6 separate regions of the Homo sapiens genome follow, and all the other regions are linked to region 4. The links are contacts of gene promoters, found by promoter capture Hi-C in blood cells and fetal thymus (Javierre and others, 2016). All regions are on one chromosome and are shown on one strand. The core of a region is centred on a gene start or on the middle of the fragment in contact, and the rest is flanking DNA. Distances in the headings are between cores, read along the strand shown. Region 1 overlaps ST6GAL1 (ST6 beta-galactoside alpha-2,6-sialyltransferase 1). Region 2 overlaps ST6GAL1 (ST6 beta-galactoside alpha-2,6-sialyltransferase 1). Region 3 has its middle 16 kb from the start of AHSG. Region 4 holds the start of RFC4 (replication factor C subunit 4). Region 5 overlaps DNAJB11 (DnaJ heat shock protein family (Hsp40) member B11). Region 6 has its middle 9.4 kb from the start of FETUB.

The links. Contacts are between HindIII fragments. The CHiCAGO score rates a contact against its expected background, and 5 or more counts as called.
Region 1: a fragment that was not itself captured here is called in contact with the fragment with the promoter of RFC4 in region 4 in 1 of 17 cell types (naive CD8 T cells); the score reaches 5.7 in naive CD8 T cells.
Region 2: a fragment that was not itself captured here is called in contact with the fragment with the promoter of RFC4 in region 4 in 4 of 17 cell types (naive CD4 T cells, total CD8 T cells, total CD4 T cells and 1 more); the score reaches 6.3 in naive CD4 T cells.
Region 3: a contact is called between a fragment that was not itself captured here and the fragment with the promoter of RFC4 in region 4, in 4 of 17 cell types (naive CD8 T cells, total CD8 T cells, M1 macrophages and 1 more). The highest score is 6.3, in naive CD8 T cells.
Region 5: a fragment that was not itself captured here is called in contact with the fragment with the promoter of RFC4 in region 4 in 10 of 17 cell types (total CD8 T cells, naive CD4 T cells, non-activated CD4 T cells and 7 more); the score reaches 10.6 in total CD8 T cells.
Region 6: a contact is called between a fragment that was not itself captured here and the fragment with the promoter of RFC4 in region 4, in 1 of 17 cell types (erythroblasts). The highest score is 7.5, in erythroblasts.

What each region holds. Positions count from the first base shown.
Region 1 is chr3:187,046,896-187,050,717 of GRCh38, reverse strand. All of the region lies in intron 4 of ST6GAL1 (ST6 beta-galactoside alpha-2,6-sialyltransferase 1), which reads right to left. Among named protein-coding and RNA genes, the nearest start is that of RPL39L, 91 kb to the left of the region's middle. The HindIII fragment of the contact is 3,699 bases long and covers 263-3,822 here.
Region 2 is chr3:187,030,144-187,034,473 of GRCh38, reverse strand. All of the region lies in intron 2 of ST6GAL1 (ST6 beta-galactoside alpha-2,6-sialyltransferase 1), which reads right to left. Among named protein-coding and RNA genes, the nearest start is that of ST6GAL1, 100 kb to the right of the region's middle. The HindIII fragment of the contact is 672 bases long and covers 1,884-2,555 here.
Region 3 is chr3:186,594,809-186,598,598 of GRCh38, reverse strand. It overlaps the pseudogene PET100P1. Among named protein-coding and RNA genes, the nearest start is that of AHSG, 16 kb to the left of the region's middle. RefSeq lists an enhancer at 1,365-1,659. The HindIII fragment of the contact is 179 bases long and covers 1,488-1,666 here.
Region 4 is chr3:186,804,525-186,808,715 of GRCh38, reverse strand. RFC4 (replication factor C subunit 4) reads left to right here and starts at 2,234. Exons shown (of 11, transcript NM_002916.5): 1 at 2,234-2,426; 2 at 3,992-4,133. The coding sequence starts at 4,003. RefSeq lists enhancers at 1,455-2,066, 2,067-2,678. The HindIII fragment of the contact is 2,364 bases long and covers 1,601-3,964 here.
Region 5 is chr3:186,572,922-186,577,334 of GRCh38, reverse strand. DNAJB11 (DnaJ heat shock protein family (Hsp40) member B11) reads right to left here. Exons shown (of 10, transcript NM_016306.6): 3 at 1,398-1,495. Among named protein-coding and RNA genes, the nearest start is that of DNAJB11, 4.4 kb to the right of the region's middle. The HindIII fragment of the contact is 1,094 bases long and covers 1,227-2,320 here.
Region 6 is chr3:186,628,905-186,633,157 of GRCh38, reverse strand. No RefSeq gene overlaps it. Among named protein-coding and RNA genes, the nearest start is that of FETUB, 9.4 kb to the left of the region's middle. The HindIII fragment of the contact is 3,546 bases long and covers 452-3,997 here.

The DNA of each region.
Region 1 (3,822 bases), core at 863-3,362, 240 kb before region 4:
TAGGAACCTGAGGCCCAGGGAAGAGTCACAGAACTGGTGTGGCAGAAATGGAAGAGGAGGTCAGAGAGCTAAACTAACTTCCTTCCTCTCTCTCTTTTCCTTCCTTCCTTCCTTCTTTTCCTTCCTTCCTTCCCTCCCTCCTTCCTTCCCTCCCTCCCTCTCTCTCTCTCTCTCTCTCTCTCTTTCTTTGTAAGCCATTGTCAGAAACAATGTACTAAATCCAGTCAAAATCAAACAGGCCATCTTGAAAAACCTAAAAGCTTCCTGGGCTAGCTCCTTGTCTTTGCAACTGTTTAAGCAGTGTTTGGAAGACTTGGAAAAGTTTCTCTACCCCACGTTGACCTATCTGATGAAGGAGGGAACTGAAGACTTTAAGGAGCCATCCAAATCCTGTGATCCTATGAGAACTTCTTTCAATCTTACTCGGTCAAGCAAGTTTGGGGCTCACCACTGAAATCTACACGGGATCTGGGGGTCAGCTGAATCCTCTATTGTCCTATTCAGGTTTGTTTTGGATCATTCTTTATCCACACAGGATTTGGGGAAGTGAGGGCATTTGACTGAACACAAGATGATTTAGAAAGAGGATATCCACAGAATTAAGGATGAAAGCCTCTCTCTTTATTTCAGTTCCAATGTATGTACTAAACCTCAGGAACACAGAAACATCATTCATGAAAACAACACAACCCTATCCTCAATCCTAGGGCAAAATTTCATCAAAATGGTTTGAAAATTATCTGAGAAGGGCACAGTCCAAACTGTTATCATCTTACAGGGCAGGTACACTGAAGTGCACATAGGGCAGGAGGTATATCTTTACACAACTCAGAATTACAACACATTTTGTCAGAATCAGTCACTGGTTCGAAAGGGATTAGTAGTAATTGCATGAGAAACACAGATCCATCAGAAACTTCAGTTAGTCAACTTTTCCATTTCACAGATGAATAAATTATTGGTGAGAATCCCAGTAGAAAAGAGATGAGAAGCTCCAATGGAGTAATTGAGAGATTCATAAAAGGACTACTTACCAAGTTGGGGTAGAGTTTAAAGAAATCAACACGGAATAGGCTAAAGCCCCAGGGTTGATGACTGCAGGGTGTCATTACCACCCCAGGTCTACTGTGGCCTGATGAGCGGAGACCCTGAGCTGAGGAGGGACACCTGTCGGGAGCTGTTGCCTTTAGGAGAGGAACACAGCTATTGCCAACCTCCGGGCAAGAAGGAGCCTGAGGGAGTCAATATCCCAACCTGGTTCTGCCCCTTCCCTTGGATCTCATAGAACTGAAGGGAAAAGGGACAGAGCAGGACCAAGACTGGGACGGCCTCCTGGCAGGATCTGAGACCTTCAGTCAAGAGAAAGATACAGCTTGAGTTTACTCTGCAAGGCGAAACATGGCGGAATAGGTGCCCTGACCTTAGTCTTCTTCTCAGCTTTAATGCCACTGCTTCTCCTGGCCAGTCCCAGAGAAAATCCAGAGAGTGAGAAATGCCAATTAACGCAGTTCAAAATTTTAATTTCTCAGCTGGGCGCAGTAGCTCACGCCTGTAATCCCAGTACTTTGGGAGGCCGAGGCGGGTGGATCACCTGAAGTCAGGAGTTCGACATCAGCCTGACCAACATGGTGAAACCCCATCTCTACTAAATATACAAAAATTAGCTGGGCGTGGTGGCACGCACCTGTAATCCTAGCTACTCTGGAGGCTGAGGCAGGAGAATCGCTTGAACCCAGGAGGCGGGGGTTAGCGTGAGCCGAGATTGTGCCACTGCACTCCAGCCTGGGCAACAGAACAAGACTCATTCTCAAAAAAAAAAAAAAAAAAAAAAAAAAAATTCAATTTCTCAGGGACAGAGCCAGATGGAAAAGGGTGAGAGTGGGATTTGGAGGTGCCACTGGAGAACATCCAGCACAGAAGGCTTAGGTTAGAACAGATGCTTGATGTTGACCATAAGAAAGGAGAATTGTTTTGTTCAGTCAACAAATACTGATTGAGCACCTACTCTATGCCAGGCACAGTTTTAGACACGGGAGACGACGCCTGTGAGCAACAAAGACAAGGTCCATGCCCTCAGAGATATTACATTCTACTGCACGGACATAGACAGTAAAGACGGACAACAACCTACATATAAGATAATTTCGGATTGTGACAAACACTGTGACACTAACAAGCTGAGCTGTGTGCCAGAGACACTGAGGGAATTTCCTTCATAGAGTGATGATTCAGGGAATGCCTTGGAGCTGAGACCCAAAGGATGGCCAGCCTTGGGAAGGGTTCAGAGAAGTCCACCAGTCAGAGGATGCAGCAAGTGTCAGGACCACAATGAGGGCAGGGACTTGACTGTAGACAAGGAGTGAGGGGAAGAAAAATCAAAGATACAGTTACAGAGGTTGGCAGGAACCAGATCATACACGGACATGGGGGCCCAGGTATGAAGTTTGGACGTGATTCTAAGAAAAAAGCCAATCAGGCTGGGCACGGTGGCTCACACCTGTAATCCCAGCACTTTGGGAGGCCAAGGTGGGCAGATCACGAGGTCAGGAGATCGAGACCATCCTGGCTAACACAGTGAAACCTCGTCTCTACTAAAAATACAAAAAAATTAGCCGAGTATGGTGGCAGGCGCCTGTAATCCCAGCTACTCGGGAGGCTGAGGTAGGAGAATGGTGTGAACCCAGGAGGTGGAGCTTGCAGTGAGCCAAGATCACGCCACTGCACTCCAGCCTGGGCAACAGAGCAAGACTCTGTCTCAAAAAAAAAAAAAAGAAAGGAAAAGAAAAAAGCCAATCAAAGGAGAAAACTTTTTTGAGGAGATGGATATTCTAATTACCCAATCTGATCATTGCGCATTGTATGCATGTACCAAAATATCACATGTACCCCATAAATATGTACAATTATTATATATCAAATTTTTAAAAAGAAAACTTTAAACTGACTTGGGTACTTAAAGAGAAAAAAATCCTGTTTGTCAAACCTCCCTGCTAATTGAAAGTTGAACTTTCAAACTCAAATAGGCCTCTAAGAAATCACCAAGAGAAATCCACAACTACTGAGATCCCAGCAAACAAGCCTAGCGAGGGGGAAAGGCTGCAGAAAAAAGAAACTACCACCTCTCTGTAACTTAGAATTAGAGCTCAGAAAAAGAGGCAAATTAGGAGAAGAAAAAATAAATGCATCACTGTATTCAGATTATACAATCACACGCTTAGAAAATTCAACAGAATCAGCTCAAGTTAGTAAATTCATAAATACATCAAAATCCACTGCCTCTAGGTGTAGTTAACTCTAAATAGCTAGAAATTATTATGAAAGAAATTTTATCACAATTTATCACCAAACGCTTTTATATTTTCAAGTTAGCCTAATACATCCTACAACCATTTATGGAAAATTACATTCTGAGTCCGGTTGAAGAAAACAGACATACTATAGATCAGAGTTAAAAAAAAAAAAAACTATGACTTGGCCGGGCGCGGTGGCTCACACCTGTAATCCCAGCACTTTGGGAGGCCGAGGTGGGCGGATCATGAGATCAGGAGATCGAGACCATCCTGGCTAACACGGTGAAACCCTGTCTCTACTAAAAATACAAAAAATTAGCCAGGCGTGGTGGCAGGCACCTGTAGTCCCAGCTACTCGGGAGGCTGAGGCAGGAGAATGGCATGAACCTGGGAGGCGGAGCTTGCAGTGAGCCGAGATCATGCCACTGCACTCCAGCCTGGGCAACAGAGCAAGACTCCGTCAAAAACAAAACAAAACACTATGACTTGAAGGACAAATCTGGTGCATCCCTCATTTTGTAAATAAAGTTTT
Region 2 (4,330 bases), core at 970-3,469, 230 kb before region 4:
ATTGGCCTGCGGTTTTCTTTTTTTACTGTGTCTTTGCCAGGTTTTGGTATCAGGGTAATGCTGGCTTCATAGAATGAGTTAGAGAGGGATCTGTCTGCCTCACTTTTTTGGAATAATTTCAGTAGGACTGGTACCAGCTCTTTTTTGTATGTCTGATAGAATTTGGCTGTGAATTTATCTGGTCCAGGGCTTTTTTTGGTGGTAAGTTTTTTATTACTGACTCAATTTCAGAACTTGATATTGGTCTGTTCAGGTTTCAATTTCTTCCTGATTCAATCTTGAAAGATTGTGAGTTTCCAGGAATTTGTCCATTTCTTCTAGATTTTCTACTTTGTGTGAACAGAGGTATTAATAGTCTCCAAAGATCTTTCATATTTCTGTGGGATTAGTTGTAATGTCATATTTGTCATTTCTGGTTGTGATTATTTGTATCTTCTCTCTTTTCTTCTTTGTTAATCTAGCTAATGGTTTACCAAACTTGTTTATCCTTTCAAAGAACCAACTTTTGGTTCTGTTGATTCTTTGTATGGATTTTTGAGTCTCAATTTTGTTCAGTTTTGCTCTGGATTTTAGTTATTTTTTTCTTTTTCTGCCAGCTTTGGGGTAAATTTTTTTTCTAGTTCCTCTGGGTGCAATATTAGGTTGTTAATTTGAGATCTTTCTAACTTTTTGAAGTAGATGTTAAGCACTACAAACTTTCCTAATAACACTGCCAAAAATAAAAATTTTTAATGTCGAGCTTATTTATCAAGGTGAAAATCTGTTAACAACTAAGCATCCAGCAATAAGGAAATAAGAAAAGCATGGTATAGCCACCTGAAATAATTTATATAATTGTGTATGAATTTATATAGTAATAGGGGAGAAAATACTTAAAATCTTAAAATGAAAAAAGCAAAACAGAAAATGTTACCTGTATACTCAGATGGTGACTTAAAAGATATGTATATCCAACTGTCTAGAAAAAATGTAAATGGTTGAGACTTGAATACCATTGACGGATAAACTGATGAAAGATTAATTCTTATCAGTTTGAATTCCTTTATTATTTTATTCTTTGTTTTTGAGATGGTGTCTCTCTCTGTCGGCCCAGGCAGAAGTGGTGCAATCTTGGCTCACTGCAAGCTCCACCCCCGAGGTTCATGAGATTCTCCTGCCTCAGCCTCCCCAGTAGCTGGGTAATATAGGCACCGGCCACCACGCCCAGCTAATACTTGTTTTTAGTAGAGATGGGGTTTCACCATGTTGGCCAGGCTGGTCTTCAACTCCTGACCTCAGGTGATCTACCCACTTCGGCCTCCCAAAGTGCTAGGATTACAGGCGTGAGCCCCCACGCCTAGCCAACTTCCTTTATTATTTTTATTATGTTACTTGAATAATTAAGGCAAAACTCTTGGGGGCAATACTAAAAAATACACTTCAACCTTGTGTATCAACTTGGTGCACAATATTAACCTGGCTGCAAGGCCTGTCCTAGGAGATCTAGCATTAACAGAACTAAGAGGAAGCCATATGGACATACTTGACTTCACCCCATGAACCAAGAGAAAATCCTCTGTTGAAGGCTAGGAATTCAGGTTGGGAGAACCCCAGCTCTTCATGACCAGGAGGAAGGCAGGCAGGCAAACCCTAGGTATGACTACCAGGGAAAAAGTGAGAGGTGCCACTCTGCCCTGTGTCAAAACATTTGGGGCTCTCCTCATCAGCTCAAAGAAGGACGGTTTTCTGGGCAGCATCCTTGGAAGAGTCAGAAAATTTCTCTGATAGTTATCCCTCTGACATTTTCACAGCATGAATTTCCCTTGTGGCATGAGTGTTTGTAATTATGCAGGCATTCATTTAGTATTTGATTAGTCTGTCTCCTTCCACTAAAAATATAAGCTTCATAAATAGGAATCTTGTCAACCTTCTTCTCTATTATTTCCAGGGAGTATCTCTAGACACTAGATGAATGTCTAGCACTTAATAAGCTCTCAGTATGCATTTGTTGAATGAATAAATGGGTGACGGGTTCACAGCTCTTACTCCTGGCATCACTCATGGAAGAGGCTCTTTCTTAGCCCCCTGTAGAAAACACTGTGGGCAGTCACCAGACTTTTGGATGATACCTCTTGCCTGTGAATGCTGGTTTGCTGCCATCCTCCAGCTGGCAGCCAGAACATGAAACTTTTTGTTTGATACAGCCCACAGACAACAGAAAAGTACATCAATCCCAGCTCTTCCTCCCTTACATCAACTGCATCTGCTCAAAAAACCTTGCCCTCTAAGAAGATAAAAATCACTCTCCATTTTTGATTTTCAAAAATCAACCAATTGAAACAAAAGTGGTGCAACTATCTAGATTTATCATAGGTGATGAGGGCTTTCCAAAAATAGTCCCTGCTGCTGATGAGATAGCAGCACTACTGATCTTCAACCAGCTGTAGAAGTGATAACAGAACCCTCAACTCTCTGGGTGAGAAACTTTAGCAATCCTGGCAATAATAGCTACCATTTATTTAGCACTAGCTATGTGCCAAGCACTGACTATAGCTTAGGGATGAACAATACAAGCTTTGGAATCAGATTTATCAAGACAAGAGCCCAAACTGCCTTTCACCAGCTACCTGACTTTGAGCAAGTTACTCAACCCCTTAAGACCCAAGATTTAAGACATCTTTATCTATAAAATAGAAATAGTAATAATAACAAGTCCTACCTCATAGTGTGATTTACAGAATCAAGTAAAATAATCCACTCGGCCAGGTACTGTGGCTCATGCCTGTAATCCCAGCACCTTGGGAGGCTGAGGCAGGTGGATGACTTGAAGTCAGAAGCCCGTGACCAGCCTGACCAACATGGTGAAAACCCGTCTCTACTAAAAATACAAAACTAGCGGGGCGTGGTGACGTGTGTCTGTAATCTTAGTTACTCGGGAGGCTGATGTAGGAGAATCACTTGAACCCGGGAGGTGGAGGTTGCAGTGAGCCGAGATCACACCACTGCACTGCAGCCTGGGCAACAGAGCGAGACTCCATCTCAAAAAAAAAAAAAGATAATCCACTCAAAGGGATTACAACAGTCACCATCCCTTCCTCTGTGGATACCATTACTACCCCCATTTTTACAAACAGGGAAACTGAGACAGGGAAGATAAATAATTTGCCCAGATTAAGTAGAATGGCACTCTAAATGTCGAAGACTCTTTCATGCCTTTGCAGCTCTGCACAAGAAGTTCTTCAGCAAAGTGTGGTTTCCTGTGCTGTTCCCATGGGGCCATGCCCACTCAGCTTCCAACACCAGCTCAAGTGCTCCTTGACTCTCAAGCTTCCTTGGCCTCACAGAGATGATCAGCATAACTCCATGGTGCCTATTCTTCCCCTCATCAAACTATGTGACATTTATCTGTTTGCAGATCTGTCCCAACCAGATTGAGAGCTCCTGGGCCACAACTAGGAAATGTTCAGTCATGTCTGAATGCAAGAATGAAGCTAGCTCCTGACACCATCCCTCCCCACTGCCCACTGCCTTCAATTGCTACAGCCACTCCCTCCCACCTACCCACCCATCACCTTCAGTTGCCAGAATCACCTTGACGGCACCATCATTGCAAATGTTCATTTTGCCTGTTGGATACACTGAATGACAGGGAATTTACTACCGCCCCAGACCACACACAACTGTGTGAGTAGCTCTGCCTCTTAGAAATATATTAAAGTTAATGAAAATCAACTTCCCTGTAAAAATAAATCCAGTGTTGCAGCTGGGCACGGTGGCTCACACCTGTAATCCCAGCACTTTGGGAGGCCAAGGCGGGCAGATCACTTGAGGTTAGGAGTTCGAGACCAGCCTAGCCAACACGGTGAAACCTCATCTTTCCTAAAAATACAAAAATTAGCTGGGTGTGGTGGCGGGCGCCTGTAATCCCAGCTACTTGAGAGGCTGAGGCAGGAGGATCGCTTGAATCCGGGAGGCGGAGGTTGAAGTGAGCTGAGATTGCACCACTGCACTCCAGCCTGGACAACAGAGCAAGACTCTGTCTAAAAAATAAAATAAAAAATGAATAACTATAAACCCAGTGTTTTAAGCTCTACTCACTGGAGCCACATAGACTCAGATGGTGAACCTCTAACACTTGTTGCCTCTAGCAAGTGTTAGACTGAACCTCTAACACATGCTATTTGTCAGGCTCAAAGTGAAGAGCATCACATGCATCAATGCATGTCATCCTCACAGAGACCCTGTGCAGACAGCGCTACCTATGACCCCACTTACCTGGCTGCAGCCATCTTCTCCCCCACCCAAAATACCGTGCTTCGTTGCCTGAATATTTTAGCTCCAACACTGTTTC
Region 3 (3,790 bases), core at 328-2,827, 210 kb after region 4:
GCGGTGGCCAGGGTCTGGTTCCGTGCCATACATAGAGGAGGTGGTGATGACATTTTCAAAGAAGAATGTGTGTGAAGGAGGAGGAAGGGGAGGTGGGAGAAGGTGATGAAAACCATGCTGCAGGAGTGGAGAAAACCAGAACCAGGGCAGGCGCTGTGGCTCATGCCTATAATCCCAGCACTTTGGGAGGCCAAGACGGGCAGATGACAAGGTCAGGAGTTCGAGACCAGCCTGGCCAACATGATGAAACCCCCATCTCTACAAAAAATACAAAAATTAGCCAGGCGTGGAGGTGTGTGCCTGGAATCCCAGCAATTGAGCAATTCTCATGCCTCAGCCTCCTAAGTAGCTGGGATTACAGGAGGCAGAGGTTGCAGTGAGCCGAGATCGTGCCATTGCACTCCAGCTTGGGTGACGAAGGGGAAACTCTTTCTCAAAAGAAAAAAAAAAAGAAAACCAGGCTGGGGCACAGTGGCTCACACCTGTAATCTCAGCAGCTTGGGAGGCTGAGGTTGGCAGATCACTCAAGGTCAGGAGTTTGAGACCAGCCTGGCCAACATGGTGAAACCCCGTCTCTACTAAAAATACAAAAAAGTACCCAGGCATGGTGGCGCACGCCTGTAATCCCAGCTACTTGGGAGGCTGAGGCAAGAGAATCATTTGAACCTGGGAGGCGGAGGTTGCAGTGAGCTGAGATCGCGCCACTGCACTTTAGCCTGGAGAACAAGAGTGAAACTCTGTTTTGAAAAAGAAAGAAGAAAGAAAGAGAGAGGGAAAGAAAGAGAAAGAAAGAAGGGAAGGAGCGAGGGAGGGAGGGAAGGAAGGAAGGAAAAAGAAAGGAAGGAAGGGAAAGGAGGGAAGGAGAGAAGGAAGGAAGGAAGGAAAAAAGAAAGAAGAAAGGAAGGAAGGAAGGAAGAGAAAGAAAGAGAAAGAAAGAAAGAAAGAAAGAAAGAAAGAAAGAAAGAAAGAAAGAAAGAAAGAAAGAAAGAAAGAAAACCAGACTCATCATCAGCAAACCCCAGATGAGGATGCCTAATAGATTGGAAGGCACCTTCTTAAGCTGTGTGTTGGGAGGAGTCTGAGCTCAGGGATCTGCTGCGGAGGACAGGCTGGAGCACGGCCTGCACCCCACCCTGCACTGGCTGGACTCCTCTGTGTAGGAGCTGGGCTCTGGGTATCCCTGGTTTCCCAGTGCCTCCTGAAGTTCATGCACATAGTGGCTGTTTAATAAATGTTTAAGCAATGAAGTATATTGTTTTAATCTTATTTTTCCCATTGAAGAAACCTACAATTGCTCCTGATGTTTTCTCTTTTTTTTTTTTTTTTTTGAATAACAAGGAACTGAGTATATGTATATTTCATCAGGGGAGGGGCTAGGACTCCCACTTGGAGGCCTCAGGAGTTCTGCTGGGCGTCGCGAAGGAGCTTCTCCTCCCGCCGCTTCCGCTTCCGTAACCTCTCTTTGAATTCCTCTAACTCTTGAAGCTTCTCAGGTGGCCACAGCTCCCTCTTGCGCTGTATGACATCATCCTCAAACCACTCGGCCTGATTGGAAACCCAGAACATAGCCACAGGGAAAGTGAGGTAGATTATCATCCGAAATATCTCCAGCTTCACCCCCATCTCGTTTCTCCCCCTGATTGTTTCTTTATACCAAATGAAAGCTTTCACGAGTGAGCTCTCCCTCTCTCCTTTTGATGTAATTGTGCCCACTTCATCTCTACACCAGAGATCATGGGCTTTTCTCTGGCTGCCAAGAGTACAGAGAGCCCCTCCCTGAGTCATATGGGGAGGGGTAGGCATGAATAGGCCCCGGGCAGCACTCGGAAAGGGGAGTTAATATGACACTAGAATGACCTGGAAGCTGGACAGCAACCAATCTGTTTCCCTGCATGACTCTCCATAGTTGATAGAATGTGCACCGGATCCATCCTTTCCACAGCAGGCAGTGCCCTTTCATGCAAATAGAGGAACATTTTAAAAAATGTTCTTTGTGGCAGGGTGCGGTGGCTCACGCCTGTAATCCCAGCACTTTGGGAGGCCGAGGCGGGCGGATCAGGAGGTCAGGAGATCGAGACCATCCTAGCTAACACAGTGAAACCCCGTCGCTACTAAAAAATACAAAAAAAAATTAGCCAGGCGTGGTGGCGGGCACCTGTAGTCCCAGCTACACGGGAGGCTGAGGCAGGAGAATGGCATGAACCCGGGAGGTGGAGCTTGCAGTGAGCCGAGATCACGCCACTGCACTCCAGCCTGGGCCACAGAGCGAGACTCCGTCTCAAAAAAAAAAAAAAAAAAAGATGTTTTTTGCTGGTTCTGGGCTTTCCTTCTTGAGGGTTTTTGCAAACTGTGCCTTCAAGCTCAGACTGTGACAGGGACTCTCAGACCAGCCAGTGGGCTGTTGCCAGCTGTCAGGAGTCCAAGTCAGCCAAAAATCTGAAATATCACTGTTTATAGCAAACAACTAATATATTTTATTATCTAAATTGTAAAAATCCCTTAATATTTACCTTAAGGAGATTCATAAAATTAATAACTACACAACAAACAAAAAGAGACAAACAAAAATTTAAAAAATAATAGAGCAAACAGGCTGAGCACGGTGGCTCCTGCCTGTAATCGCAGCCCTTTGGAAGGCCGAGGCGGGAGGATCGCTTCAGCCCAGGAGTTCAATACCAGCCTGGGCAACATAGTGAGATCCACATCTCTATATAAAAACATTAATAAACAGTATTTTAAAAATAATAATAAATTTTTAAAGGAATACAGCAAACAAAAGTGGGAGAATTTTGCCAACATACGATTAGAAAAAAAAAATTTAAAGATATTTACAACCTCGTCTCTACAAAAAATATGAAAATTAGTCAGGCATGGTGGCATGCACCTGTGGTCCCAGCTACTTGGGAGGCTGAGATGGGTGGATGGCTTGAGCTTGGGAGGTCAAGGCTGCAGTGAGCCATGACTGTGCCACTGCAGTCCAGCCTGGGTGACAGAGTGAGACTCTGTCAAAATGTATATATAATATATATATTTATATATAACATATGATGTTTATATTATATATATTATATACAATGTTTATATGATATATATTTTATATAATATACAATGTTTATATTATATATATTTATATATAAATTTTATATTACATATTTATATTTTATATATAATATATATTTATTTATAAATATATTATATATATTTTTCCCCAGAGGCCTTTAAGCCCATAACCATGTAAGTAGCCTATCTTCTTAGTATGTATAAGTGTTTAACATTATTCATTAAAATAAACAGAAAATGGAAATGAAAGCCAATTATAGTTATGCTTATGTTTTTATCATATAGTCAGCACATGCAATAATTTATCTTTAATATAAAGGAAGAGGGTGCATATACAACTTGTACCAAACAAAATTATTTTCTCCCTGTCCCCTGCGTAAATGTGCAATGTAGAATGTTGTTTTCAGTGTGTGCCAATCTGTGAACCAGCTTGGGAAGGCTCTGCCTTGGTCTGGCCCTCCCCTGGCACGTGTTCACCCGGGTGACAGTTGTGCTATGGTGCAGCCCGACCTGGTCTCCATGCACAGCTCTCATGAGTTCCTCCTTCATGAGACAGTCTCAGAACTCAGCCTAGCTCTAGCCCCTCCTGTGCCTTCAGCCATCACTCTGCACTTGCTCATAACAGTTCTGAATGACGTGAGCTGCATGGGCTTCCATGCAAGCAGCACCTTTCATGCTGGGGCTTAGAAGGATCAACTGTCCAGGTTTGTCTGGGACTGAGAAGTTTCTG
Region 4 (4,191 bases), core at 985-3,484:
AGGTGGCATTTTTTTAAAATCAATTGCCAAAACAAGATACCACTCAGGTCTCTCTTTTCTATTTAACATTAAGGCACCTCTATGCCAGCCCTGAACCTGCCCAGTGACTGATCACAAGCTTTGAGTCTGGAGTCAGTCCAAGATGTGGATTATGGCTTTGCCACTTACTTGCTATTAACCTTTGTTGTAGTCTGAATGTTTGTCCCCACACCCCCAAATTATAGTTATTGAAATTATAACTCCCAAGGTGATGGTATCAGGAGGTGGGGCCTTTGGGAGGTGACTGGTTCAATAGAGTGGAACCCTCATGAATGGGAGAAATGCCTTCATAAAGGAGATGGCTGGAGAAAACTAGTTAGCCCTTTCCACCAAGTGAGGTTACAGCAGTAAGACAGCTGTCAATGAGGGAGTGAACCCTCACCAGCCACTGAATCTTATGGTGCCTTGATCTTGGACTTCCCAGCCACTAAAACTGTGAGAAATAAATTTATGATGTTTATAAGCCACCCAATCTATGGCTTATAAACATAGCAGCCAAAATGGACAAAGACCACTTATCCATCAGCTTGTCTGTTTTTTTGTTTGTTTGTTTTTGAGACGGAGTCTCGCTCTGTCACCAGGCTGGAATGCAATGGCGTGATCTCAGCTCACTGCAACCTCCACCTACCGTGTTCAAGCGATTCTCCTGCCTCAGCCTCCCAAGTAGGTGGGATTACAGGCACCTGCCATCATACCTGGCTAATTTTTGTATTTTTGTAGAGATGGAGTTTAACCATGTTGGCCAGGCTGGTCTTGAACTCCCGACCTCAGGTGATCCGCCCACCTCGGCCTCCCAAAGTGCTGTGATTACAGGCATGAGCCACCGTGCCCAGCCCAACTTGTCTGTTAAATGAGATCATAACATCCCCCTCTCTGTGGTTGTGCTGTTCCTTCAGGTAGCAAATGGATACCATCTATTTTCATAGATCTTGTTTTATCAACTGTATTGTGGTATAATTTACATACAATAAAATATACAAGCATTAAGTATACAGTTTGATAAGTTATGGTAATGTAAACCGGTGACCAGATAGATAACCTGTGTGTTTTTTATACTGTCCAGAGATTGTATCAGACTCTGTGGAAATTACAAAGTAGCATAAAGCATCCTTACTTTGGTTAAACCCTTGATTGGGTTAGGCCTGGGATGTAAGTTCTCACAGCCCCCTACTTCCTCTGCATAACCACACATCACATTGTCTGTCACTCTCCTAGTCTGTAAAGCTACTTGAGGGCATCTCGAGCGTTTTCCCTGCTGTATCTGCAGGCATCTAACACAGTGCGTGGACATTCTGTAAGCATTTGTTGCAAGATAAATGAAAAAAACGTACAAAGTTAACAATGGATATCATGCTGAGTTTGTGCCAAACAAAACAGTCATTTGAAGAAGACCCGGAACAACCTTATGGGTTAGTAATTAGTAAAGACCAGTAGAGAAGGTGGCCTTTGAGAAGGGTCAGGTTTCAATAGGATTAAGGAGCATTTCAGAGCTAAACCAAGTACTTGGAAGAGATAAAAGCAGTGGGCTCAGGCACCAGCCTAGCCCACTGTGCATGAAGCTTGGTGGGGCTAAACATGATTATCAGTCCTTTAACTTTTATTGAACGCCTTCACTTCCAGATTTCTAAGTGGGGCTCAGGAATTATAATAGATGTCCACAGCTGCATGGTCTTCTCTCTCCACAACACGCAGACACTATTAGAAGTAAAAGCCACGTGTCCTCAAGAGGGCAAGGCAAAGCATCTTCAGATGTCTCTGCCCTTAAAGCACACGCGTTCTGCTCTGCGACGAAGCAGGACAAGGAGGACAGGGACCTGCACCTCCGGAGGCCCGCACCTACGAAGATAGCGGGCTCGGGACCTTCGGTGGACCGGCAGGGTTCCAGAGGCCCGCGCGCCGCCGCCCCGCCCTCATTGCTGAGCCTGCCAGGTAAGCAGCCCCAGCGCCGTGCCCGCGCGACCTCTACTCCTTCCGGGAGGGTCGCGCTCACGTCTGAAGTGGGAGCAATGCACCGGGACAGGGACACCTCCTAGGCCATGCCTGTTCCAGTCCAGTTCTGCCTGAAAGTCCGGCTGGCTCATCACCTGCCTAAATAAAACCGTATACGGGCAAACTCCCTCCGCAAGCAGCGCGCCCCAGCACCGGAAGTGACGCGTTACGTGCCCGCGTATTCCTACCGGCGTATTCCCGCCCTGCTTTTCGCCCGCCGTTCCGTGGCGGGAACTGAGGCGACTGTGGGGACATCAGTGATCGTAAGTCTCCTGGGCCCGTTATTCTCAGATTAGGTGACGGAGCTAAGACTTCGAGACCATCTCGTCCTTTTTGTATCGCGGAAACCTGAGGAACGAGCCGGCGGCGGTGACCTGCACGAGAAGCCAGGCTAACTGGTAACCTGCTGGAGGAACTGCAAGCCCGCTTCGCCTTCCCCACTCCTGCCCTTGATGCCCCTTGTGAGGTCTTCCACCTCCTTCGGGGCCCCAGCCTAGTGGCCCTTTCATGCCCTGGCCGCGCCCTTTGGTGAAATGGTGGTTCCGGACAGCATCTTGCAGGCCCCGGCTTTGGGCTGTATTAATGTTTAACAGCCCGAGGCAGGGATGGACTAATCCAGTAACGTTATAAAAACCTTGGCTGCTAACAGATATTAAAAATTTATTTTATTGAGCATATCCCCATATGCCAAGCAAGGAACTATGTATTTGCATACATTCTTTTATTTAACTCAGTTGTCCTGTGGAATAGGCCTTAGCTCCTTTAACAGAAAAGGAAACCGGGTATCATAGATGGTAATTCATTCACCAAATATTACGGAGCATCTACCATGTACCAGGCACTGTTCTAGGCACCAGGGCATGTAGCAGTGAAAAAAATAGAATTAACCGGGGACTTTTCAGGCGAGCTAATGATGCTTTTTATCCCTGAAAACAGCCTGGAAGAATGTTTACCTGCATGTTAGAAATAGTTACCTTCTGGGTGGGATTTTGTATTACTTTTTTAAATCTCTCATGCTTTTATGCATTGTTTTGATTTCTTCAAGTGAGTGTGTTATGAGAAAAACAGCTGTTTCTATTTTAACAACAGAGTCCCCCACCTTCCCTTCCCCACAGAAAGTCTCTGAAGGTAGGTAAGCATTGACTCTGCCATGAAAATAGGTCCCTGGCCAGGCGAGATGGCTCACACCTGTAATCCCAGCACTTTGGGAGGCCGGGGCAGGAGGATTACTTGAGCCCAGGAGTTCCAGACCAGCCTAGGCAACATGGTGAAACCCTGTCTCTACCAAAAATTTAAAAAATTAGCCGGGGGTGGTGGCACGCACCTGTAGTCCTAGCTACTGGGGAGGCTGAAGTGGGAAGATGACAGGAGCCTGGGATGTCAAGGCTGCAGTGAACCATGATTCCGCCACTGCACTCCATCCTAGGCAAAAGAGTGAGACCCTGTCTCAAAAACAACAACAACAAAAAAAGGTCTTTGAGTTCTGACCCAAGGAAAGGAGTGAAGGTTCTCATTTGTGGTGCAAGCAGAGCACCTTTAATTGCCGAAGAGTCCATTTCAGGGTCTGAGCTAGAGCTAGGCCCATGACTGTGAAAGAAACCATGGAGGCCCATGTGGTTTGGTCATTAGCAACATCATATTTATCAATGCATTTGGAACTCATTAAACATTTTTGTGACATATGATCTTTGTTCTATAACTCCTGCACTAGAAATAGATTCTAAGTTCGTTAGGGACTTTGACCACTTTTCTGTTCTTGTAGCCCTCAGTACAGTGCATTCAGAGTGTCCTAGGTCATGGGGTGATGTCCTTTATTATGTAACATCTTTGCACAAGGCTAAGTTTATTTTCGGGCTGTACTTTCTCATAATGGTTCCCCACCACCACCCCCGCTTTCCTATGGTGCTGATTCGCAATAAAAGTTTCAATAAAAGCTTTTTTTTTCTGTCTTGCACCTGACCAGGGTGAAGTACCATGCAAGCATTTCTTAAAGGTACATCCATCAGTACTAAACCCCCGCTGACCAAGGATCGAGGAGTAGCTGCCAGTGCGGGAAGTAGCGGAGAGAACAAGAAAGCCAAACCCGTTCCCTGGGTGGAAAAATAGTAAGAACACTTGTGTCTTTGTTAAAATAATTCATAAATTATCTCTCTAACCAGTACT
Region 5 (4,413 bases), core at 524-3,023, 230 kb after region 4:
GGAAAAATCTGAATATGGTGGACTTATTGAGAAAGAGTATAGTATACATAAACTTGTGTAATGCTAAATGTAATGGTTAATTTAAGAAATTTTTATCGGTAATTTTAACATATGTAGTGTTCTCTTTACATGCTTTTTAGAAGCTAACTTGTTGAAAGAAGCTACTGCTCTACACAAAAATCTTGAGTATGTAATTAAATAAGCTAAAAAAGCATCAGCCTTAGTAAAATCCTAGTGCTTAAGGAGAAGGAAGTTCTAGCCTCTATAAGACCCAAACTAATTTTTGTAAGTAACAAGAGTAACTTGAGATTAACAAAAAAGGTGACCTTCAATCCTACAGGTGGTTTAATCTAATGTTAATTTTTGGTGTTATTAAGAAGCCTTGTATATTAGCATAGCGAAGATGATAACTATATAACTCCCTCTCCCACCAACCAACTCAGGTGAATGAATTCCCTGAATCTTAAATAAAGGCAAGGGGAAAGAACAGGGTGGGGGCTGGGGAAGCTGTTTCTCTTTCTGGTATTCCCTAGGGATCACTTCAGCCAGCCAAATTGATCCTGGCGGGGGGAAAAGATGTCCTAATCATGTTACTCACACATCTTTACAGACCCTAAAAATCTACTCCCCCACCCCAGGCCCCTCAACCAAGCACTAAATGGTGGTAACTACTATATGCAACAGTGATTCTTACTTCTTTTGGGGAAGGGTTCACAGAACCCTTTGAGAATCTGAAGAAAACAATGAACTCTCCCCATAAAAATGCAGATTCGAACATCTTTTTGTTTATAATTTCAGACCTGAAACCCCAGATTAAAGTCTCTTAGTATATGTAATCATCAGGGAATGTGGAAATTCAAATGCTCAATAAAGAGAGGTTCAAAGAGTGAGGAAGAAAGTGTTTATTATTCCAACCACCCAGCACTCCCAGAAAGCAAGAGATAAAGGTCCTCTACCCTAATTCCTTCCCCTAATGCTGGTTATTATAATCACCCTCACTTGTTGATAGCACGAAAGAGAGGCAGCTCTGGGTATGGGAGCAGGAATTTTTCTATCTCTGCTAACAATAATTTTGCTCATTAAGTGGTTTGCAGATTGCAAGGTAGCAAGTAGGCAAGGATGAACTGATTTCCAACACATGTCCCCGTGAATTGTCTGCACTGATTTAACTGATATGGTTGGCTAGATGGAATGTCCTTTCAGTGCCATCAGTCTTTCCTGAAGCTTTGTGAAAATAGAAGACTATCTTCCCACAGGGAGGACAATAATTGATCTTTGGATCAGCTAAATTGTACTGTTCATCAAAAGTTTCTGAACTAGGGAATGAGAATAATTCTTTAATCGCTAAGTGACCCTCTCTCAGACACTAACACTTTGCAGATGGGTAAATTACTCACTGTGAAAAAATGTCTCCATGGGAGCTCTGATGACCATCTTTTAATCCTTCTTCACCATAAGTATCGTACTGTTTCCGTTTCTCACTATCTGACAGAACCTGGGGATAAAAGCCAGTGGAGGAAAAGATCATGAGTTGGTAATATCCAGTTAAGGCACAGTCATATTTATGTTTGTTTTTACTTTGACAGTGGGTCTAAAATTTTAATAGAATGCAGTTTCCATTATGTACTGTATTAAGGCATATTTACAAAGTTATTTTCTCTAAGACTAAATTCTTTGATGCACTGTTCATTCCACATTGCTCCATTCATGTTTTTAATTTAAAGTTCTCAAAACTCGTGTAGTCACTAAAAAATAATACCTGAGATTAGCAATGCAGCTGTGAAGGTCAGGGTGGTGACAGGAAAGAGTTAAGACGGATTCCTCAGGTTTACTTCCCATGCAGTTTGACTTTGGTGCTTATGCTGTTAACCACTATACTGCCTTCAGAACAACTTGGCCCCACAGGTCTATAACACCCCCTACCCAAAACACACACACACAGACACACACACACACACACACACACGCGCGCGCGCGCGCATGTATTAGGAGATTGTCAAGTCAAGGAAATCAAATGACAGGCCCTCCAGAGAGGCCTACACTGATATCTTTTCATCCTCCTTTTTTCATTTTTTGGTATATGCAGAAATCCATTTGTGGAAGAATTTTGCCTGCCATATATATATATGTTTAAGTTTGTAATGTCCTGAGTTTGAAATGCAGAAAGAGTAGTAAGTAAAAATACTCTATGAAGGTTATTCAAGGTCAATTTCATTGCTTGAAATAATTCTTGAAGTTTTAAGTTTCAGAGAACTACATACACAATCATGACTATATGCTTTCTCTCTGTATATTAAAGAATGTAACAACAAAATAAGCTTCCATCCTTTTCAAAATTTGCCTTCAACATGCAAAAAAAAACTTTCTCTTTTATTTAGAGCAATCTGATATATATGCACATATATACTTGTGAAAATTAAATGGCTTTAAAATCTTCCTTTGATATTTATAAACTCCTACTTAGACAAGAGTCTGAAGGAGAGAGTTATTTCAAAACCACACTCATGGTGGCCCAGAAAAAGAGAGGTTCAAAGTAGACGGGGCTTGTTGACTTAAAAGAAAGGCATATTCACACAGGACACATTTTTGGCTTAGGGCCCAAATGAGGTGTAAGGAGTCATGGCAAAAATGTATTAACATTTAAGATATCCTTGAAAGGATAAATAGAAATTGAGTATACAAGAGAGTGAACATTCTTAAAAGCAAAGGCAAATGGGTTATTCCAGAAGTGACCACAGTACTTGATTACAGCCACTATGAAAGAAAAAGGGAGAGGAAAGCATGTTTTCACAAGTATCTTTAGAAAATAGGTACTTTGGGGAAGCAGAAATGGGCACAATTAACTTGAAAAAAAAAAAAACCCTTATTATTAACTGGATCTCCAATATTTTCACTTTTAGTCTACTTCTCTGATCTGATCTTCACAAATAAATGAACCCTGCATTTGAGACTATAAAAAACACCATTTCAAAACCCCCAAAGACTAGTTTTAAGTCAGTTTCTTTTTAGACATCAGAGGCTTCTGTAATAACCCCCTAAAAACTACTCTTGAAGTCATTATCATTTACTTCCTCCTCACTTTTCTTCCATCAAGGAATGCAATTTTATTCTATGGTCTTGGAAACTATTTTAAAAGAAAAAAGGTTTTTAGTTGATTGGCCAACCAATACACAGATTCTCAAGTAATTAAAATGCCAGCAGTGATCCTAGCTCTGTAGAGAAAACAAATTTGTATTCACAAAAGATTCTTCATAACTGTACTCGGATTCTAATTTGTGAACACTAATTTACCTAAGACTAAAGGCAATCAAGCTTGAATGATAAAAAGAAAACAGAAATTTGAACTAGTGGCTAAAAGGATTGTTATAGTTAAATAAGCCACGATTTCATGACTGACCTTTGTATAGCCTGCCTAGGTCATTGATAAAGAACGTGAAGATTCTTTAGAGAGCATGGTAAATTCAGCTTCCCTAGAAAATGTTTTTGAGTATTAGGTTCCTAGCAAACAAGGGGACTATTCATGGAAAATACAGTGCAAAATATAGAATGCATATTATCAACAAGAAACAAAATATTACATATAATTTAGGATGGGCCATTAACCTTCCCAAGTTTATTGATGTGCCTCAGGTTAAGAATTTCTGTCCCTTGGCCAGGCACGGTGGCTCATGCCTGTAATCCCAGCACTTTGGGAAGCCGAGGCGGGTGGATCATGAGGTCAGGAGATCGAGACCATCCTGGGTAACACAGTGAAACCCTGTCTCTACTAAAAATACAAAAAATTAGCTGGGCATGGTGGTGCACAGCTGTAGTCCCAGCTACTCAGGAGGCTGAGGCAGGAGAATGGCGTAAAACCCAGGAGGCGGAGCTTGCAGTGAGCCGAGATCGTGCCACTCTACTCCAGCTTGGCAGACAGAGCGAGACTCTGTCTCAAAAAAAAATAAAAAAGAATTTCTGCCCCATAGGATCCCTGAAGGTGTTGAAAGATGAAAGGACCCCAACAGCTCTTGGGTTCACCTGGGTATAACTCACTGTTTCAATTCCATTGCTTCTTTAATCTAGAGATCTTGGGATTCCTTCCTTTCAAGGTTTGTGTCTTCCTAAAATATTTTTCAATTTGTTTTTAGCCTTCTCAATATACAAGAATTTAAACTTAAATTCAGGAGTTTTAGCTCTATGACTTTTAGTTCAATTAATTTTTTTCTGTGTCCATTTAGAAAATGAGAATAAAAATATGCCTAGCTCTAATATATTTCCTGGTGTCCTAGTGAAGATTAAATGAGATGATACACATGAGAGTGTTTTGATCCCCAGATTAGAGGTTGCAAAATCAAATTAAAACTGTGCTCTGTTTGATTTATGTAAAAAAGAAATTTAACTGAATTAGTTACCAACACTTTTACAAGCAGAACT
Region 6 (4,253 bases), core at 975-3,474, 180 kb after region 4:
TTATAACAATAGCCTTCACACCAGCAGTGGATAAAGCATTAGGAAATGATCTTCATTTGAATGTTCCAAGCACAGTAAACAAAAACTTATCTTGAAAGAGTAGAGAGGCCAGGAGAGGTGGCTTACGCCTGTAATCCCAGCACTTTGGGAGGCCAAGGTGGGCAGATCATGAGGTCAGGAGTTTGAGACTAGTCTGGCCAATATGGTGAAACCACATCCCTACTAAAAATACAAAAATTAGCCGTGTGTGGTGGCGCGTGCCTATAGTCCCAGCTACTTGGTAGGCGGAGGCAGGAGAATAGCTTGAACCTGCAAGGCGGAGATTGCAGTGAACCAAGATCATGCCACTGCCTTCCAGCCTGGGCAACAGAGTGGGAGTCCATCTCAAAAATAACATAAAATAAAATAAAATAAAATAAATTAAAAAAAGGCAGAGAGAGGCTGTGAAGCTTGACTTTCTGGGCTCCTCCATGGACTGGTGGATCAGGAGTTTAGGGGGTAAGAAGAAAGTTCCTTCATTCAAGTAATGTCGTAAGTTCTTCTCCAGTGAGTGAAGTAACTGCTCTGTGATAGGCACTATGCTAGTTGTTGGGGATAAAAAATTAAAAAGCTAGCTGGCACAGTGGCTCATGCTTGTAATCCCAGCAATTTGTGGGGCTGAGTTGGGAGGATTGTTTTAACCCAGGAGTTCTAGGTCAGCCTGGGCAAAATAGCAAGACCCCATCTCTTAAAAAATTTTTAAAAATTGGCCAGGCATGATGGCATGCACCTGTAGACCCAGCTACTCGGGAGGCTGAGGCAGGAGTATCACTTGAGCACAGGATGTCAAAGCTGCAGTGGGCCGTGATTGTGCCACTGCACTCCAGCCTGGTGACAGAGCGAGACCTTGTCTCAAAAAGATAATAAATAAATAAATGAATAAATAAGTGCCTAGTTTTCAATCCTCTGCATTGTAACAATTGAAGAATCCTTTGCTCGAGTGTAAGATAACAGACACCACAGGGCTGCCAAGGACTGGTCAGTGACAACAGGGAGGACAGCCTCCCTGATGAGAACATGGCAACACTCTTTGATATGAAATCTCGCATGATATTTGAGATATCTGGCTTGTAATGTAAAATTTGTGACAATTATTGCCTTCTATATGTTTTAGCAGGTAACAACATAATTGTTCAAGTGTTCTTTTTTCTGGAGTTAAGATAGTTAATTTTGAGTAAACCAGGCCCCAAATATTATGGGTAAATTTTTTTCTACTGTAATTCTTTATAGCTTGATATTATGTGTGTGTGCACGTGTGTGTGTGTGTGTGTGTGTGTGTGTGTGTGTGTGTGTGAGAGAGAGAGCTAGAAAGTGGAAGGGAAGAGGTGAGAAGAGGCATGGCGAGGGAATGACAAGATTAAGCGTGGAATAGTAGTGAGGCAAAAGCCTGAGAGTCTTCTGTGCTGTAATGATTTGCATAGCATACTAAAAGTACTGGGGAATCACTGAAGGTTTTAAGAACTAGATTCTCAGAAAGATCATTCCAGGTAGCAGCGATGAAAGGCCCCAGCTTCTTCAGGATACCCTTATCACCAAGGCCATAGGCAACAAAAACAGATGTGGGTGACGGTCCATCCTTGTAGGGTCTCAGCTCATGCTTGTGGGTTCCAATCTGCTGTCAATTCCCCCTACGTCATATCCATCTTCTCTTTCTGAACACCTGCCCTGCGGACTTCAGGCTCCAGCATCAGATACAGAGACAGGCTTACAGGGACTGTTTATCCAGCCCCCACAATTGCATAAGCCCTGTGGACTTCAGGCTCCAGCATCAGATACAGAGACAGCCTTACAGGGACTGTTTATCCAGCCCCCACAATTGCATAAGCCAGTTCCCTATAATACCTCCCTGGTTATGCTAAACCTGGTTGAACCCTGAGTGGTACAGTTGTGAATGAGAAAATCCTGTCAGAGGAGACACTGCTGAAAAGATGGAAGTGACAGTGGGAACAGAGAGGAAGGACTGGATCCGAGATATAATGAGGATGTAGGAAATCAAGACCTGGTGACTCATAAAATATGGCAGCAAGAAAGGGTGAGGGATCAAGAATGACTCCAGAGTTTTCAGGTTATTTGACCGAGTCAAAGAGTTGAGCTACCATTACAGGAATAGAGCAGATTTGGAAGGGGGAGGGGATGGGGACCTGAGTTTGAGGCTGTTAAATTTGAAGAATCTGAGCGATCTCTAAGTGGAGACTCATAATATGTGTTGGGTATACGGACTCAAGGTTTAAAGGGGATGAGCAAGATCATCATTAGCCAGAGGTGGAGGCTAAAATCTTGGGAGAGGGTGAGCTCATTCTGGGAGGGCAGGTAAGGCAATGAGATGAGAATGAGGTGGAGCTCTGAGAAAACTAATATTTAAGGAGGAAGCAGAGGAAGAGGAGCTAAAAGAAAAAGAGTCTGAGATTGAAAGGCTGCAGAGAAGAAAGACAGGCTCCATAGACCAGGAAGGATTGCATTCAAAAAGGAAAGGCGTGGTCAGAGGGTCAGATGCCATGGAGAGCTTGAATAAAAAAGGGCTAAACATGTATCCATTTGATCCAGAAGTTCCCCCGTGATCTTTGTTGGTAGCAGTTTCAGAGGAGTGGTGGGGATAGAAGCCAGATTACTGTGAAAAAAAAAATGAATAGGAGTTCAGGAAGTGGAGACAAGCAAGTATAGACCATTGTTCATAAAATCTTGTTTATAAATAGAAGGAAAACAAACATTAAAGAGAAGAATACAAGGTTGAGGAAAGACCTTTAAAAAAATAAATAGAAGGCCAGGAGCAGTGGTTCACACCTGTAATCCCAGCAGTCTGGGAGGCCAAGGCAGGCAGATCATTTGAGGTCAGGAGTTGAAGACCAGCCTGGCCAACATGGCTAAACCCCATCTCTACTAAAAATACAAAAAACCCCACAAAAATTAGCTGGGTGTGCTGGTGCACACCTGTAATCCAAGCTACTTGGGAGGCTGAGACAGGAGAATCGCTTGAACCCAGGAGACAGAGGTTGCAGTGAGCTGAGATGGCACCACTGCACTCCAGCCTGGGCGACAGAGTGAGACTCTGTCTCAAAATAAAAAATAAGCTGGGTGTGGTGGTTCACGCCTGTAATCCTAGCATTTTGGGAGGCTGAGGTGGGTGGATTCGCTGAGCTCAGGAGTTGGAGACCAGCCTGGGCAACATGGTGAAACCCCATTTCTACTAAAATACAAAAAACTAGCTGGGCGTGGTGGTGCATGCCTGTAATTCCAGCTACTAGGGAGGCTAAGGCAGGAGAATTGCTTGAACCAGGGAGGTAGAGGCTGCAGTGAGCCGAGATCACACCATTGCACTCCAGCCTGGGCGACAGAGCAAGACTCTCAAAAAATAAAATAAAATAAATTTTTTTGAGATGGAGTCTAGACAGAATAAACTGAAGTTACAAGAGTGGATAAGATTATCAATGGGAGCATATAAAGTGAGAAAAATAAAGGTGAAAATCTCAGGAACCCTAATATTTTAGAGGTAACTGGAAGAGATGGAGGCAGAAAGAGTTCCAAGTAGGAGGTAGGCAATAACATCAAACATTGGCGAGAGACCAAATAGCATAAGAAGGAAAAACAAATTACTGGGTCAAAGGTTTTGACAATAAGAAGGTCAACAATGACCTTTGCCAGAATAATCTTACTACACTGGTGTGTATATGAACCAAGGTATAATGGATTGAGATGTGATGAAGAGATGATAAGTTATCTCTTAATAACTGAGACAGTTATACGTTGGTATTTTGAGGGGAGAGAAATGATAAGGCCAAGTGATAGCAAAGGTTCAGTGAGATGGGCACACTCAGGTTTTGGAAGTGTAGATTGGCAAAATCTGTTTGTAAAGCACTTTGACAATACATGTCAAGAGTCGTAAGATATTCATATTATTTTGGAATATTAGTTATATTTCTGAGACTCTACCTTGGAAAGTATTCACACATATAGGAAAGCTTTTATGCATAATAATATTTATTGATATGCCATTTACAAGCACGAAAAAGTGTCCATCTAAATGTCCAACAACAGGAGAATGGTTAAGTAAACTTCCATTTAGGTAACAGTGAAAAGGAGGCTTAACACGACTAACTTCATTTTTCTCCCAATCTCCCTGCAACTCCATCCAAAATGATATCTTTTAGGTTAACTGCTTTTGCTTATCTCTGCACACAGGCCAACCTAACTATGGGAGGCATTTAGTTGGCAGTTTA